Regions from separate parts of the Homo sapiens genome. Here all the other regions are linked to region 1. The links are contacts of gene promoters, found by promoter capture Hi-C in human tissues and cell types (Jung and others, 2019). All regions are on one chromosome and are shown on one strand. Each heading gives the region's core, a stretch centred on a gene start or on the middle of the fragment in contact. The rest is flanking DNA. Distances are from core to core; before and after follow the strand shown.

Region 1 (3,314 bases), core at 211-2,710:
AGGTGGTGTTAGGTATGTTCAGTTGTCGTGCAACCAGATTGCTGTTTTAAATAACAGCACTTAGAGATGCCGACTTCGTGCCAGGCCCAGTTTGGGACATTAGGGACTCCCAGATGAATCAGCCGCTCCAGTGGAACTCCCTGCTGGTGGGGGAGGCACTGGCGAAGCGGTGCTGAGCCGAGTCCTGACGGCGCTGGAGCTGAGGGGCAGTGCGGGATGCCCCAGGAAGGCTCCTAGGAAGAGGGGACCCACGGTGACTTCCTAAGGAAGCGCGGTTCCCAGGTAGAGGAGCGCATGTGAGCCAAGATCCCTAGGCCTGAGCCGTCTAGGTGTGTCCCAGGAACTGCAGGAAACGGTTGGGTGAGTCAGTGGTGGGCAGCGAGGGTGATAAGCCCCTTCGTGTCTTCGGGATGGTAAGTTTGGGGCACAGGTGAGTGAAGACCGAAGGCCAGGGGTGGACTGACACTCCGTGGCAGGCGCAGGGCCGGGCAGGGGGGCGGCTTGGGGGTGGCAAGGTTTGGGTGAGAAATGGCAGCCCATGGGGAACTACCGCAGGGCTCTGAGACCTTCAGAGCCAAGCCCCGACGCCCCTTCCCACCTGCGGGGCAGAACTGGGGATGGCAGGGGGGAGGGTGGTTCCCAAAGGAGATACCATCCCTGGTAAGGGGACATGGGCCCCTGGGAGTTGGGTTGGGCCACAAGGAGAGAGGCCTGAACGGCCAAAGGGAGGGGGCGTGGGGGAAGCCGCAGCATCAGACCTCTGCCTCCTCCCTCAGATCGTGAGGCTCCCCAGCCTGGCTCGGGAGACCCCGAGATCCCCGGCCGGTGACAGCAGGCGACCCCCTGCTCCTGTCAACCTGTGGGTCCCTACGGACGTGGGGAAGGGAGGAGGGAGGCCCCAGCTCCCTGCGGGGGAGGGGCGTGAAGACGCGCGGGGGTGGGGGGAGATGAGCCGGCGTCGCCATGACAACGAGGCCGGTGGTCCGGCCTTGGGGACCCGGGAGGGAGGGAGGCGCCGTGGCCGCGCGCGCGGGCGGGGGCGGGGGGCCAGGTCTCCCAGGAGTAGTTGGGGAACACCCGGCGATTCTGGCGGCTGCTTCCTGGTGGCGCAGGGAGCCCGCGTGTTTGCGAGTGCGTGTGTGTGCGAAGTTCTCCGGGTAAGTGTGCCAGCGCGCGCCTGGGTGTGTGCAAGGGTGTGAGCGTGCACACGTGGGCACGGGCGTGTGCGCGCGGGGGTGCCCGGTTGGATGTGTGCACACGAGTGTGTGCCGGTCCGCGTGCCCCTGCGTGAGTGTGCGCGCGCGAGCACACGTGTGTGTGCGCGCTCGCGTGCGCTCCCGAGCGGGCCCCGGGTGGGAGTCCGAGATCCCGCCCCCTCCCCAGCCCCAGCGCCCCTCCCCGTCCCCCGCCGCCGCGCCGGCTGCATCCTCGCCTCCACCTCGCTCACCCCCTCCTCCCCGCACTTTCTCGGCGCTCCCTCCCTCTCGGCTCGCACAGCTCGACTCCGCGCTCTCCTCGCCGGCCGCCGCCGCCCAGCCTGCGCCCGCCGTCCCCCCAGTGCCTGGGCACCTGTTGGAGGCAGAGGCAGGTGCAGGGGGCTGGGCAGGCCGGGGGCGTGAGGGTGCGGGGAAGCGTGCCAGCCTGTGTGCGCTACGGGGGTGTTCGGCTCTCCTGCGGCTGCAATTTCTGGCTCCCCTGAGGAGCCAGAGGTGGCATCTGAGGCTGGGGTCTCCACCGTGGGCTGTGGTGAGCGAGCGGGGGAACCAGGCAGGCAGACAGGTCCTGGGGCTGAATGAGGGGACAGTGGGCAGTTGGAGCCTAGAGGGGTGGGTGACACCCTGACTAGACCAGCGCCTGGTGCAGAGGAGGACAGAGCCTCCGAGAAACAGAGGCGGGGCCCTGCAGGGCCCCTTGGGGGACAGGCAGGCTCAGGAGCAGAGGGGAGCCCCGGAGGAGAGGAAGGAGCTGGCAAGATGATACAGGGACAACCTAGAAGTGGGTGGGTGAGGACGGGGTGGTGCAACCTCGACTTCTGCAAGGAGTGGGTTGGCAGCCCAGCCCCTGTGGAGTCAGCTTGGGGTCTGCAGGGCCCAGGCCTCCCACCTGCCACCGGCTGGCACACACCACCCTCTCCCTCGACACCTAGGAAGGGAGGCCAGTGAGGGCCCCACAGACCGAGGAGGCCGTCGCCTGGCCCTCAGCCAGGATGGCTAGGTATGATGGGCTCACTGGCTCACACGCCCTCTCCTAGCCAGGGGTGCTGCATGAGGGGCCGCAGGGGCGATCGCATGACCATCAACATCCAGGAGCACATGGCCATCAACGTGTGCCCCGGGCCCATCCGGCCCATCCGCCAGATCTCTGACTACTTCCCCCGGGGACCAGGACCTGAAGGGGGCGGCGGGGGCGGCGGGGAGGCCCCCGCCCATCTGGTCCCCCTGGCTCTGGCCCCCCCTGCAGCCCTCCTTGGGGCCACCACGCCTGAGGATGGTGCGGAGGTGGACAGCTATGACTCGGATGATGCCAGTGAGTCTGGGGGCTTGGAGGCCCCATGTGCTGGTGGGGGTCTCCAGGCTTGCCGTGGTGGGGGGAGAGGGGGATGGGCCCTGCTGGCTGTGCATGTAGGTAGGGGAGGAGGGCAGTGGGGGGGTGGCAGGGACGGCCACCACAGCTGCAGTCAGCGTGGAGATTACAGCTTCAGCAAGGCTCAATATTCAGTATTTCTGCTGAGACACTCCACCACCCACACAGCCCCAGTTGCGGCCGAGCCAGGGACCCAGACGCACACACGCATGGGCCCACTCAGCCTCTTGCACTCACACTCGCGGGCTGGCAAGAGAGAGAGACACACAGAGCCAGTGCCCACCTGCTGGCCTCTCGCACACACCTGTCTCCATACCGACCCATGCTGCCTTTCCTCTCTCTCCAGCCGCCCTAGGCACGCTGGAGTTTGACCTTCTCTACGACCGGGCCTCCTGCACTCTGCACTGTAGCATCCTCAGGGCCAAGGTGGGCACTCCCTGCCACCCAAGCCCGGGCCCGGTTTGCGTGCAGCCCCCAGAGGGGGCCCATTCCTCCTTCCCTTCCCAGGCCTGCTCCTTCGTCCTGCCCTTGCCCCCTCCTTCTGGGCTCCTCCAGGGTCCAGCTCTACAAGAGGGATGGAGAGAGGTGCCGGGAGCCTCTAGCCCTCTCCCCTGCCCTCCTCTCCAGGGCCTCAAGCCCATGGATTTCAATGGCCTCGCCGACCCCTACGTCAAGCTGCACTTGCTGCCTGGAGCCTGTAAGGTAACAGCCTCCTCTCGCCCCGCCCGGCC
Region 2 (3,314 bases), core at 398-2,897, 1.1 Mb after region 1:
GGCCCCCTTCCTCTCCATCACCCCCTAGTGGTGACTGCTGCAGCTGCACCATTGGGGGCACCCCCGCGTCCCCACCAGACCCAGCGCCCTGGGCCTCTGAGCCTGGGGCTATGGCCTCTTCCAATTCAACCACGGGGACCAGCTCAACCACGGGGACCAGCTCTTCCGGGACCCCTCCACCGCCCGCTTTCTCTTTCTCTTGCCTCTCTTTGGCTGCTGCGGCTGCTGCTGCCGCCACTTCTGGCGCCCTCGACGCCTCTTCTGCCCCAGGCTGTGGGGGATCTGTCCATGAAGGGGGTTCAGGGGGCTGGGGTGGGTCATGGGAGGTGGTCGGTTCTGGATAGGAATGGTAAGAAAACAGACTGATTGTGGAGGCAGGTGAGCTCCTGCCGTGGCCTCCCCTTCACTCAGCCCCCCAGGAGCGTGGCTGTCTCCCCACATCCCATCTCCTGAGCAACCCCCCATCCATGGAAGATGGATCATGGGCGGTGGTGAGAGGAGGACCACACTTACACACAGTCACTCGCTCCGAAGGGCATGAGGGTGCAGGAGGCATCGGGGTGGCATCCATCTCCCTCGCACACCCCCGCATGGCTCCCAGCCTGCTCCCGGCCTGGGGGGAGGGGCAACGTGGGGACAGATGGGACGGTGGGGCAGGGGAAAGGGAGAGATCAGACAGGGACATGAGACATTGAGGGAGGAGGGAAGGGGATCAGACCGAGTGTCCCCGGGAAGGGCAGGCCCAAGGCCAGGCTGCGACGGAGGGCAAAGACGAGGCCAGGATGGGTCCAGGAGACAGACAGACAATGGAACAGAGGATCCGATGGAATGGGGATGCGCCCGCCCACCTCTCAGCTGCCGCCCCGGCTCCGGCCAGGAGCCTTCTGCCTTCCTGTGTCCTATCAGCGCATTTCTTTCCCTTCCAAACCCCGAGGCACAACAGCCTCCTCTACCCTGCTCTCCCAAGCAAAGCTTCTCCTTGTGATAGTCCCCCCTCCCCGCCCCATCTTTCTGGCACACACACCTCACTTCTTGGGTGCACGGGCACCTCCTCCCCTGCAGACCTGCTCTGCTCACCCTGCTGTCGCTGGGAGGATGGGACATAGCTGACAAGGACAACATCACTGGAGCCTCCCGACTCCAAAGGGATGGGGTGCACCCGGAAGTGCTCGAGCATATCGAAAATGGACTGGAACCACAGGTGCTGGACCCGGCACTGACCCTCCTCGTTCAGCGACAAACGCAGGTGCTGAGGGCGGGATGGGGGAGGTGAGGTAGGAGGCAAAGGCCCTGCCAGGTACAAACCCCCTCCCCCGGCAGTGCTCCCCCACCCCACTGCCAACTATGCACAGAACAGAGCCTTTCCCACAGGGTGGCTCACCTTGGCCTTGCCCTGGAAGTTGAAGGTGAGGACGTATTCACCCCGCCTTGTCTCACTCTGGCGCACCAGGAAGACACCGTGGGAGCCAGTGCCGCCAGTCAGCACCAACTGTGCAGCCTTGAGCCGAGAGAGCATCCCGTGGAACCAAGGATACCCTGAGAGGGGCTGGTCCCCCTCACCGCCCTCTGGCTCCCCCTGGAACAGGAAGGACCCTTCAGGAAGGAGAGAGGGAGGGAAACCGGGGTGTCAGGGCAGCCTCCCCCATCCTGGGAGAAAAAAGCCTTGCCTTCCCCTCAAGGCGCCTGCTCCCCACATGCGTCCCCAACTCCCCTGGGCCAGCTCCCTCGGGATCCCAGGAGAGGTGGTCAGGAAGGTAGGCACCCAGGCCTGGAGACATGCACACTCACACCTCCGGTACCTGTGGCTGTTTCCGGAGTGTCCAAGGGAGGGTAGGGGGCTGAGAGGGGATGAACTGTCCCTGTTGGGGGTCCCTCTTCAATGGGGATGCGGGGGGGCAACTCTGGGGGAAGCAGTTCCATCGAGTCAAAATGGGAGGCGGCAATGGAGGCAGAGCTGGGGGAGATGGATGCCGAGGGGCGGTCTGAGAGGCCCCCATATGCCCCTGGAAAAAAAAAGGGCAAAGCTGAGAACCCAAGAAATTCCTCTTCTAAAGGACTGTCCTGGGCCCATCTCCTCACCAGCAGTCTACCCTGTGTGCAGTCGCTGGCCAAGATGCCAAACAGCTCTGTGGGTAGTGACCCCTGATGCTTTTACCAATGGCTCCTAACTGATGCTTCCTGCGCTGCTGAGGGACTGCAGAGTTATTGCAAGGAGGTTCTAAAGTCCCAATGTGTCTCCATCTTTTTCTGAATCAACAGCTGAAAGACTGTTGCAGAAACGGAGAGCAGAATGCCTTAAATATATATATACATGTTTTTGTAGAGAAGGGGTCTCGCTATATAATAGCCCAGGTTGGCCCTGAGTTCCTGGACTCAAGTGATCTGCCCACCTCAGCTCTGGGATTACAGGCGTGAGCCACCGTGCCCAGCTGCCTCAAATATTTTGACATTCAAAAGGAGTCCTGGGCCAGGCGCAGTGGCTCACACCTGTAATACCCGCACTTTGGGAGGTTGAGGCAGGAGGATCACTTGAGCTTAGGAGTTCGAGAGCAGCCTGGGCAACATGGTGAAACACCATCTCTACTAAAAATACAAAAATTAGCTGGACGTAGTGGTGCACACCTGTAATCCTAGCTACCTGGGAGGCTGAGGCAGAAGAATTGCTTGAACCCGGGAGGCAGAGGTTGCAGTGAGCCGAGATTGTTTCACTGCACTGCAGCCTGGGCGACAGAGCAAGCCTCTGTCTCAAAACACACACACACACACACACACACACACACACACACACGGAATTCTGGCTGCACACAGTGGCTCACGCCTGTAATCCCAGCCTTTTGGGAGGCTGAGGTGTGAGAATGACTTGAGCCCAGGAGTTCAAGACCAACTTGGGCAACATGGTGAGACCCCATCTCTTACAAAAAATAAAAAATTAGCTAGGTGTGGTGGTGGCACACGCCTGTGGTCCCAGCACCTTAAGCCGCTGACGCAGGAAGATGGCTTGAGCCAGGGAGGTCAAGGCTGCAGGAAGCTGTGACTGCACCACTGCACTCCAGCCTGGGAGACATAACAAGACCCTATCTCAAAAACAAAAACACAAACAATAATTTTTTAAAAATAAAAAAATTAAACACACAAACAAAAAAAAAAAGGTGTCCTTTGTTGAACTATAGGACAAAGCCCCTAACTCTTAAGAGGCATCAAAGATGCTCCTTCTATTACTCCCCCAACCCACACCAACTTGAGCTTTACCTTACCTTGTATTCATGTCTCTTCCACTTTAACCCAATTTCCCATCCAATTTGTCCCCATATCCT
Region 3 (3,314 bases), core at 398-2,897, 1.1 Mb after region 1:
TTTGCAAAAAATGCATCAGTGGGGGAGGACAAAGACAGGGCATCCCTGATAAGATTCAGAGAACACCCTGCTGGCTCCAGTGTTCCCAAAGAACTTGCTGCAGATGTAACAAGATGTCACAGATTCTCAACACCTTACCGCCTCCTGCCCCGCCCAGGACTACAGAATCAGCATCTCTTCAGGTGGCACCAGAAATGTATACATTAATACATTCTATGCTTGTTAACAATCCAGCTCCTGTGGCTGGGATGCAGGAGTCCCCTCTCCCACGCTCTTCCCTTGAGCCTCAGGAGACAACTGACTGCAGGAATATAAACCCCAGGAATTCTCTTAAGAGAAGCCAGCGGCTGCGTGCCTCTCCCTGGAGGCCCTCCCTTACCTTCCTCATCCCCTGGAGGGTAGAGTTTCAGGAGGGATAGATCATCTGGGATAAGGCGAAGGCTGCTTTTAACCTGCAAAGACAAAGAAGGGAGAGGGGTCAGGCCCAAGTCCTTCCCCTACCGAAAGAAAAAATTGGGGGTAATTCTTCCCTGACACCCAGCTCCCAAATCCTCCCTAAGATCGTGGACACCTTGGCCCTCTCCTGGCAACCTAGAAGTCCAGCTTCCCCAGGATTCAGAATGGAAGTACCCTTCACCCTTTCCTCCATCTGCCTAAGACACTCTGAAATGTATGCTTCCTTGCCCTTTTTAACTAGGTTACTAGCCGCCCCTCTACCCCTGACTCTTAGGGACTCTCAGCCCATTGCTCACACGACCATCGGGGGACCCCAGCCTCTGGAGCCGCCCAGTCCTCTCTGAACCCGCATGGACCCCAACCCCCAATACTGCAGCTCCCTGGCTTCATTTGCCATGGACCCCAACCTCAAAATCCAACGGCCCCAGGTCCTCCCAGTCCCTCTCCAAAATCTCAGGAATCCCAGCTCTTCAGCCTCCCTGTGCCCCCAAGACTCTAGCTCCTAGGAATCCTAAACTTCCAACGCATCCCACCCTCCTTCACCACCCCAGTCTGCAGAAAGTCCCGGAGCCCTGCCTCTCCCTGCCTCCAACACCCTAACGCCCGAGGACCAGCCCCAGAACGCCAGCCTCAACACCCCTATAGCCCTACCCTCCCCGAACGCCGGCCCCTCCCTGGAGGCCAAGCCCTTGGCCCTTCCGCCGGTCCCCTCCCCGGGACCGGGCGCACCTTCCCCGAGTACACCGGAACCAGCGGCGCCTCCCCCGGATCCAGCACCAGCCGCCGCCGCCGCCTGACCGGCTCCCGCGGGGGTCCTGCGGGCCGCCTGTCCTCCCCTTCGCTGTCACTGTTGCTGTTATCCCGGGACGCGACCGGCCCCGGGGGCTCCGGGGGCTCCACCTCAACCTCGTCCGCGGCACCGCGAGCGGTGGCGACCTCCAGAATTTCCTCATCGCTGTCGGTGACCAAGTCCACAGACACTACGTCCAGCGTGCCCCGGGATGGAGACCGCTGGGCCCGAGGACGCCGGCCCCGACCGCCCCAGCCGCCCCGACCCCCTCGGCCGGCACCGCTACCTCCGGACCAGCGGCCCCGCTTCCCCACAGGCTCCGCCATGGCACACTTTCCTCCACAACACACGCCCGCCTCCTCTCGCCTCGCCCCGCCCCCTTCAGCGACTTTCGCCTTGCATTGGACAAACAGCCTGCTCGTCAGCAACTCTTCGCGCCCCACGCGCGGGATCCGCCTTCCCGCCTTTTCATTGGTCTCTGTACCCGCTCATCATGCGCCCACCTCTGAAACCAAGGCGCCAAAGATTCCAATCACCTCGGCACAATCACCGTAGCTTTCGATTCAGTCGGCCTCACCCATTGGCTGGGCCACCTCTCCACAGACGAGCCTCTCCCGGACCCGCCCAACCAAGACAACCGTCTTCCGGCTTGGTTAGTCGCAGGGCATCCTGGGAAATGTAGTCCTCGAGCGGTAAGGTTTCCGGGAGAAGGAAGGCGGGCCTGGAATTCCCTGTGGAAACCGCGGATTTAACCAGGCGCGGTGCCTCACGCCCGTAATCCTGGCACTTTGAAAGGCTGAGGCGGGCAGATTGGTTGAGCTCAGGAGTTTGAGACCAGCCTGGCCAATGTGGCGAAACCGCGTCTCTACTAAGAATGCAAAAATTACCCGGGCGTGGTGGCACCCCTCTGTGGTCCCAACTACTCAGGAGGCTGAGGTGGGAGTTTCGCTGGAGCCCGGGAGGCGGAGATCGCACCACTGCACCCCAGCCTGGGTGACAGGGCGAGACCCTGTCTCAAAAATGCTTTAAAGAAATAATAAGGCTGGCCGCGCGCGGTGGCTCACGCCTGTAATCCCAGCACTTTGGGAGGCCGAGGCAGGCGAATCACGAGGTCAGAAGTTCAAGACCAGCCTGGCCAACACGGTGAAACCCCGTCTCTACTAAAAATACAAAAATTAGGCGGGCGTGGTGGCGTGCGCCTGTAATCCCAGCTACTCAGGAGGCTGAGGCAGGAGAATTGCTTGAGCCCGGGAGGCAGAGGTTACAGTGAGCCAGATCCTGCCGCTGCACTCCAGCCTGGCCGACAGAGCGAGACTCTCTCTCAAAAAAAGAAAGAAAGATAGAAATAATAAGGCTGGGCGTGGTGGCTCACGCCTATAATCCAGCACTTTGGGAGGCCGAGGTGGGCAGATCACCTGAGGTCAGGAGTTCGAGACCAGCCTGACCAACATGGTAAAACCCTGTCTCTACTAAAATACAAAAATTAGACAGGCGTAGTGGCAGGCGCCTATAATCTCAGCTACTCGGGAGGCTGAGGCAGGAGAATCGCTGGAACCCAGGAGGCAGAGGTTGCACTGAGCCAAGATTGTACCACTGCACTCCAGCCTGGGCAACAGAGTGAGACTCCATCTCAAAAAAAAATCTTATGTATTTATTTATTTTTAAATTTTATTTTATTCATTTATTTAATTTTATTTATTTATTTATTTTGAGATGGAGTTTCGCTCTTATTGCCCAGGCTGGAGTGCAATGGCTCGATCTCGGTTCACTGCAACCTCTGCCTCCCAGATTCAAGCAATTCTCGTGCCTCAGTCTCCAAGTAGCTGGGATTGATTACAGGCGTGCACTACCATGCCCAGCTAATTTTGTATTTTTAGTGGAGATGGGGTCTCACCATGTTGGTCAGGCTGGTCTTGAACTCCTGACCTCAGGTGATCCACCCCCCTCCGCCCCCGCCTTGGCCTCCCAAAGTGCTGGGATTACAGGCGTGAGCCACTGCGCCCGACTATTTATTTTATTTTTTTCTTTTTCTTGATTCGGAGTTTTGCTCTGTTGCCCAGGCTGGAGT
Region 4 (3,314 bases), core at 491-2,990, 1.0 Mb after region 1:
CATCTACCAAAACTCACTGAAGGCCAGGCATGGTGGCTCATGCCTGTAATTCCAGCACTTAGGGAGGCTGAAATGGGAAGATGTTTGAGGCCAGGAGTTTGAGGCTGCAGTGAACTATGATTGCGCCACTGCACTCCAGCCTGGGTGACAGAGCAAGACCCTGTCTCTACATAAATAATTTTTTGAAAAAATTCACTGAACTGTATGCTTAAAATGAGTCAATGTTTAGGCATATTAATTAAACTACAATAGGCCGGGAGTGGTGGTTCACGCCTGTAATCCCAGCACTTTGGCAGGAGGATCACTTGAGTTCAGGAGTTTGAGACCAGCCTGGCCAACATGGGGAAACCCTGTCTCTATTAAAAATACAAAGATTAGCCAGGCGTGGTGGTGAACACCTGTAATCCTAACTACTTGGGAGGCTGAGGCAGGAGAATCGCTTGAACCTCACTGCAGAGGTTGCAGTGAGCCAAGATCGCGCCACTGCACTCCAGCCTGGACAACAGACTGAGACTCCGTCTCAAAAAAAAAAAACAAAGAAAAAACCAAAGAAAATATCATTCTGGCTGCAGCATGGAAGATGGATTTGAGAGGCCAGAGGGGAAACAGCCACCCGTGAAGCGGCTGTGGCACTAGCCTAGGCTGCAGGCAGTGGTGGCTTGGCCTAGGACAGCATGGAGACGGGCAGAGGGAGCTGATTTGGGAGGGAGCTGGGGCTATTAAGTTGAACGGGTGATGCAGTGGGTGTGGGGGATGAAAAGGGATCAAGAGTGAAGCTTTTCTGGCTCACGCAGAGATGGATGATGCTGGGATTCTTTGAGACAGGAGTTTAATCATTCAACAAACATTTGTTAGGATACTACTGTGTCAAGGTGTCAGACACCAAGCAAGAGACTTTTTTGAGATGGGGTCTTGCTCTGTTGCCCAGGCTGGTGTGCAGTGGCACAATCACAGCTCACTACAGTCTCGAACTCCTGGGCTCAAGCAATCCTCCCACCTCAGCCTCCTTCCTGAGTAGCTGGGACTACAGGCATGCACCACACACTTGGCTAATTTTTTTTATGTTTGTAGAGATGGGGTCTCACTAGATTGCCCAGGCTGGTCTGGAACTCCTGGCCTCAAGTGATCCTCCCACCTCAGCCCCCTGAAGTGCTGGGATTACAGGCATGAGCCACTGCGGCCCAGCCAAGAGATTTTTAAGAAGAGTTTATTTTCAAGGAACTTACAGTCCCATAGGGAAGCAAAACCTGGATGCGTGGATGGGTGTACCAAGCCAGACTCCAAGCAGAGGTGGGACACACAAAAGACAATGTGACCAGTCCTACGAGGAGCCTTATGGAAGAACTGACCCTGAGTTGGAGGGGGTGACAGGGGTAGGGAGGTGGGAGACAGTAAAGGCATAGAGAAAAAAAGGCAAAATGGTATGTTGCAACTTCAAGTATGATCAGCTACATTGCCATCACTTGGGACCTTGCTGGAAATGCAGCATCTCACGCCCCACCTGAGCTGCTGATCCAGCATCTGCACACTAACAAGGTCCCCAGACAACCTGTGTGCACACTGACGAGAGTCTCTGGTCTCCTTGAGAATTCTGAGCCATACATCAGACCCACCTGCATCTACACCGGGCTGTGCAATGGGAGGCCCTGTGGTCTAGAGCACGTTCATTCATCTTTCTAAGCTTCTGTCTTTTTTTTTTGAGACAGCGTCTCACTCTCTCGCCCAGGCTGGAGTGCAGTGGTGCGATCTCAGCTCACTGCAACCTCTGCCTCCCAGGTCCAAGCAATTATCCTGCCTCAGCCTCCCAAGTAGCTGGGACTACAGGCGTGCATCACCATACCTGGTTTTTTTTTCTTTCTTTTTGTAGAGATAGGGTCTCACCATGTTGGCCAGGGTGGTCTTGAACTTCTGACCTCAAATGATCCATCCGTTTAGGCCTCCCAAAGTGCTGGGATTACAGGCGTGAGCCACTGTGCCCAGCCCTAAGCTTCTGTTTTTCTTCTGTAAAATGGGAATAAGAACACCTACCTCACAGGATTGCTCTGAGGATGAATAAGGTTATGAAAAGAGCCAAGGTTGGTATGTGGCACTGAGTAAAGGAGCATTAAAGTTTCAAGGGTCTCTAATCAGGAGAGTTTGAGGAAGATTATCCAGAGCCAGCTGCAGTGGTTCACACCTGTAATCCCAGCACTTTGGGAGGCCAAGGCAGGAAAATTGCTTGAGGCCAGGAGTTCCAGACCAGCTTGGGAAACCTAGGGAGAGTCCATCTCTACACAAAAGTTTAACAATTAGCAGGTGTGTTGTCATTCACCTGTAGTCCCAGCTACTCAGGAGACTCGGGAGGATTGCTTGAGTCCACAAGATCGAGGCTGCAGTGAGCTATGATAGCACCACTACACTCCAGCCTGGGTGACAGAGAAGACCCTATCTCAAGAAAACAAAACAAGGCTGGGAACGATGGCTCACACCTATAATCCCAGCACTTTGGGAGGCAGAGGCAGGCAGACTGCTTGAGCTCAGCAGTTCAAGATCAGCCTGGGCAACATAGTGAGATCCTACCTCTACAAAAGATACAAAAAAATTAGGTGGGCATGCTGTCATGCACCTGTGATCCCAGCTAATCAGGAGGCTGAGGTGGGAGGATCACTTGAGCCCCGGAGGCAGAGGTTGCAGTGAGCCGAGATCACACCACTGCACTCCAGCCTGGGTGATAGAACAAGACCCTATAAAAAAAAAAAAAGAAGAAAAGAAAAAGAAAAAGAAAAAGAAAGATCACCCTAGATATTCTTTTAGACATGTGAAAGGATGAACAATCTCATCATAAAAGATAAAGAAATGCAGTCTTTCCCATACCCTTCCCAGATTAAGTCAGGGGAAGGTATGAGGAAACTGGAACCTTCCAGCACTTGCTAGGGGACATGTAAAAATGTACAGGCACTTTGGTTAGCAATCTAACAGTATTCAAGAATTAGTGACCAGTGATTCCACTATCAGATGGAAGCCCCCGAGAAAAATCCCACACAGGTACCCCAAAGGGAACACTACATTGCTTGCAATAGCAACATCCTGGAATTTGAACTGGGTTTGGTTATAAGTGGTAGAAACCCTAAAATAAGTGATTTAAAGAGGGGCAGCAGTCCCTCCTTCATGTGAAAGCCGAGGTCAGCACTGCCAGGCCAATGAGGTGCTACATGGATGCTGTGATCCAGGCGCCTTCCCTCACCATCCTGGCCCATGTGGTTTCTGTTCCAGAGGTCACCTTAAGTCAGTAGGGCTGCTCCACTTCCAGTAAGCAGGCAGGAGGCAAGTGAAAG

Evidence for each region. Contacts are between HindIII fragments. The study calls those that stand out against the background at their distance.
Region 2: a fragment that was not itself captured here is called in contact with the fragment with the promoter of DOC2A in region 1 in 1 of the 25 tissues and cell types used here (lymphoblastoid cells).
Region 3: a contact is called between the fragment with the promoter of NFATC2IP here and the fragment with the promoter of DOC2A in region 1, in 1 of the 25 tissues and cell types used here (lymphoblastoid cells).
Region 4: a contact is called between a fragment that was not itself captured here and the fragment with the promoter of DOC2A in region 1, in 1 of the 25 tissues and cell types used here (lymphoblastoid cells).

Annotation. Positions count from the first base shown.
Region 1 is chr16:30,009,173-30,012,486 of GRCh38, reverse strand. DOC2A (double C2 domain alpha) reads left to right here and starts at 1,460. Exons shown (of 11, transcript NM_003586.3): 1 at 1,460-1,584; 2 at 2,252-2,526; 3 at 2,930-3,009; 4 at 3,211-3,285. The coding sequence starts at 2,265. RefSeq lists a silencer at 1,494-1,553. The HindIII fragment of the contact is 30,604 bases long and covers 1-1,620 here.
Region 2 is chr16:28,870,469-28,873,782 of GRCh38, reverse strand. SH2B1 (SH2B adaptor protein 1) reads right to left here. Exons shown (of 8, transcript NM_001387430.1): 5 at 1,800-2,003; 6 at 1,382-1,593; 7 at 1,078-1,249; 8 at 1-336. Among named protein-coding and RNA genes, the nearest start is that of ATP2A1, 6.4 kb to the left of the region's middle. The HindIII fragment of the contact is 4,269 bases long and covers 1-3,314 here.
Region 3 is chr16:28,949,270-28,952,583 of GRCh38, reverse strand. It overlaps NFATC2IP (nuclear factor of activated T cells 2 interacting protein), which reads right to left and starts at 1,647. Exons shown (of 8, transcript NM_032815.4): 1 at 1,186-1,647; 2 at 380-452. The coding sequence starts at 1,572. RefSeq lists silencers at 1,192-1,311, 1,452-1,551 and enhancers at 1,271-1,771, 1,791-2,325. The HindIII fragment of the contact is 8,980 bases long and covers 1-3,314 here.
Region 4 is chr16:28,967,558-28,970,871 of GRCh38, reverse strand. No RefSeq gene overlaps it. Among named protein-coding and RNA genes, the nearest start is that of NFATC2IP-AS1, 2.8 kb to the right of the region's middle. The HindIII fragment of the contact is 5,584 bases long and covers 1-3,314 here.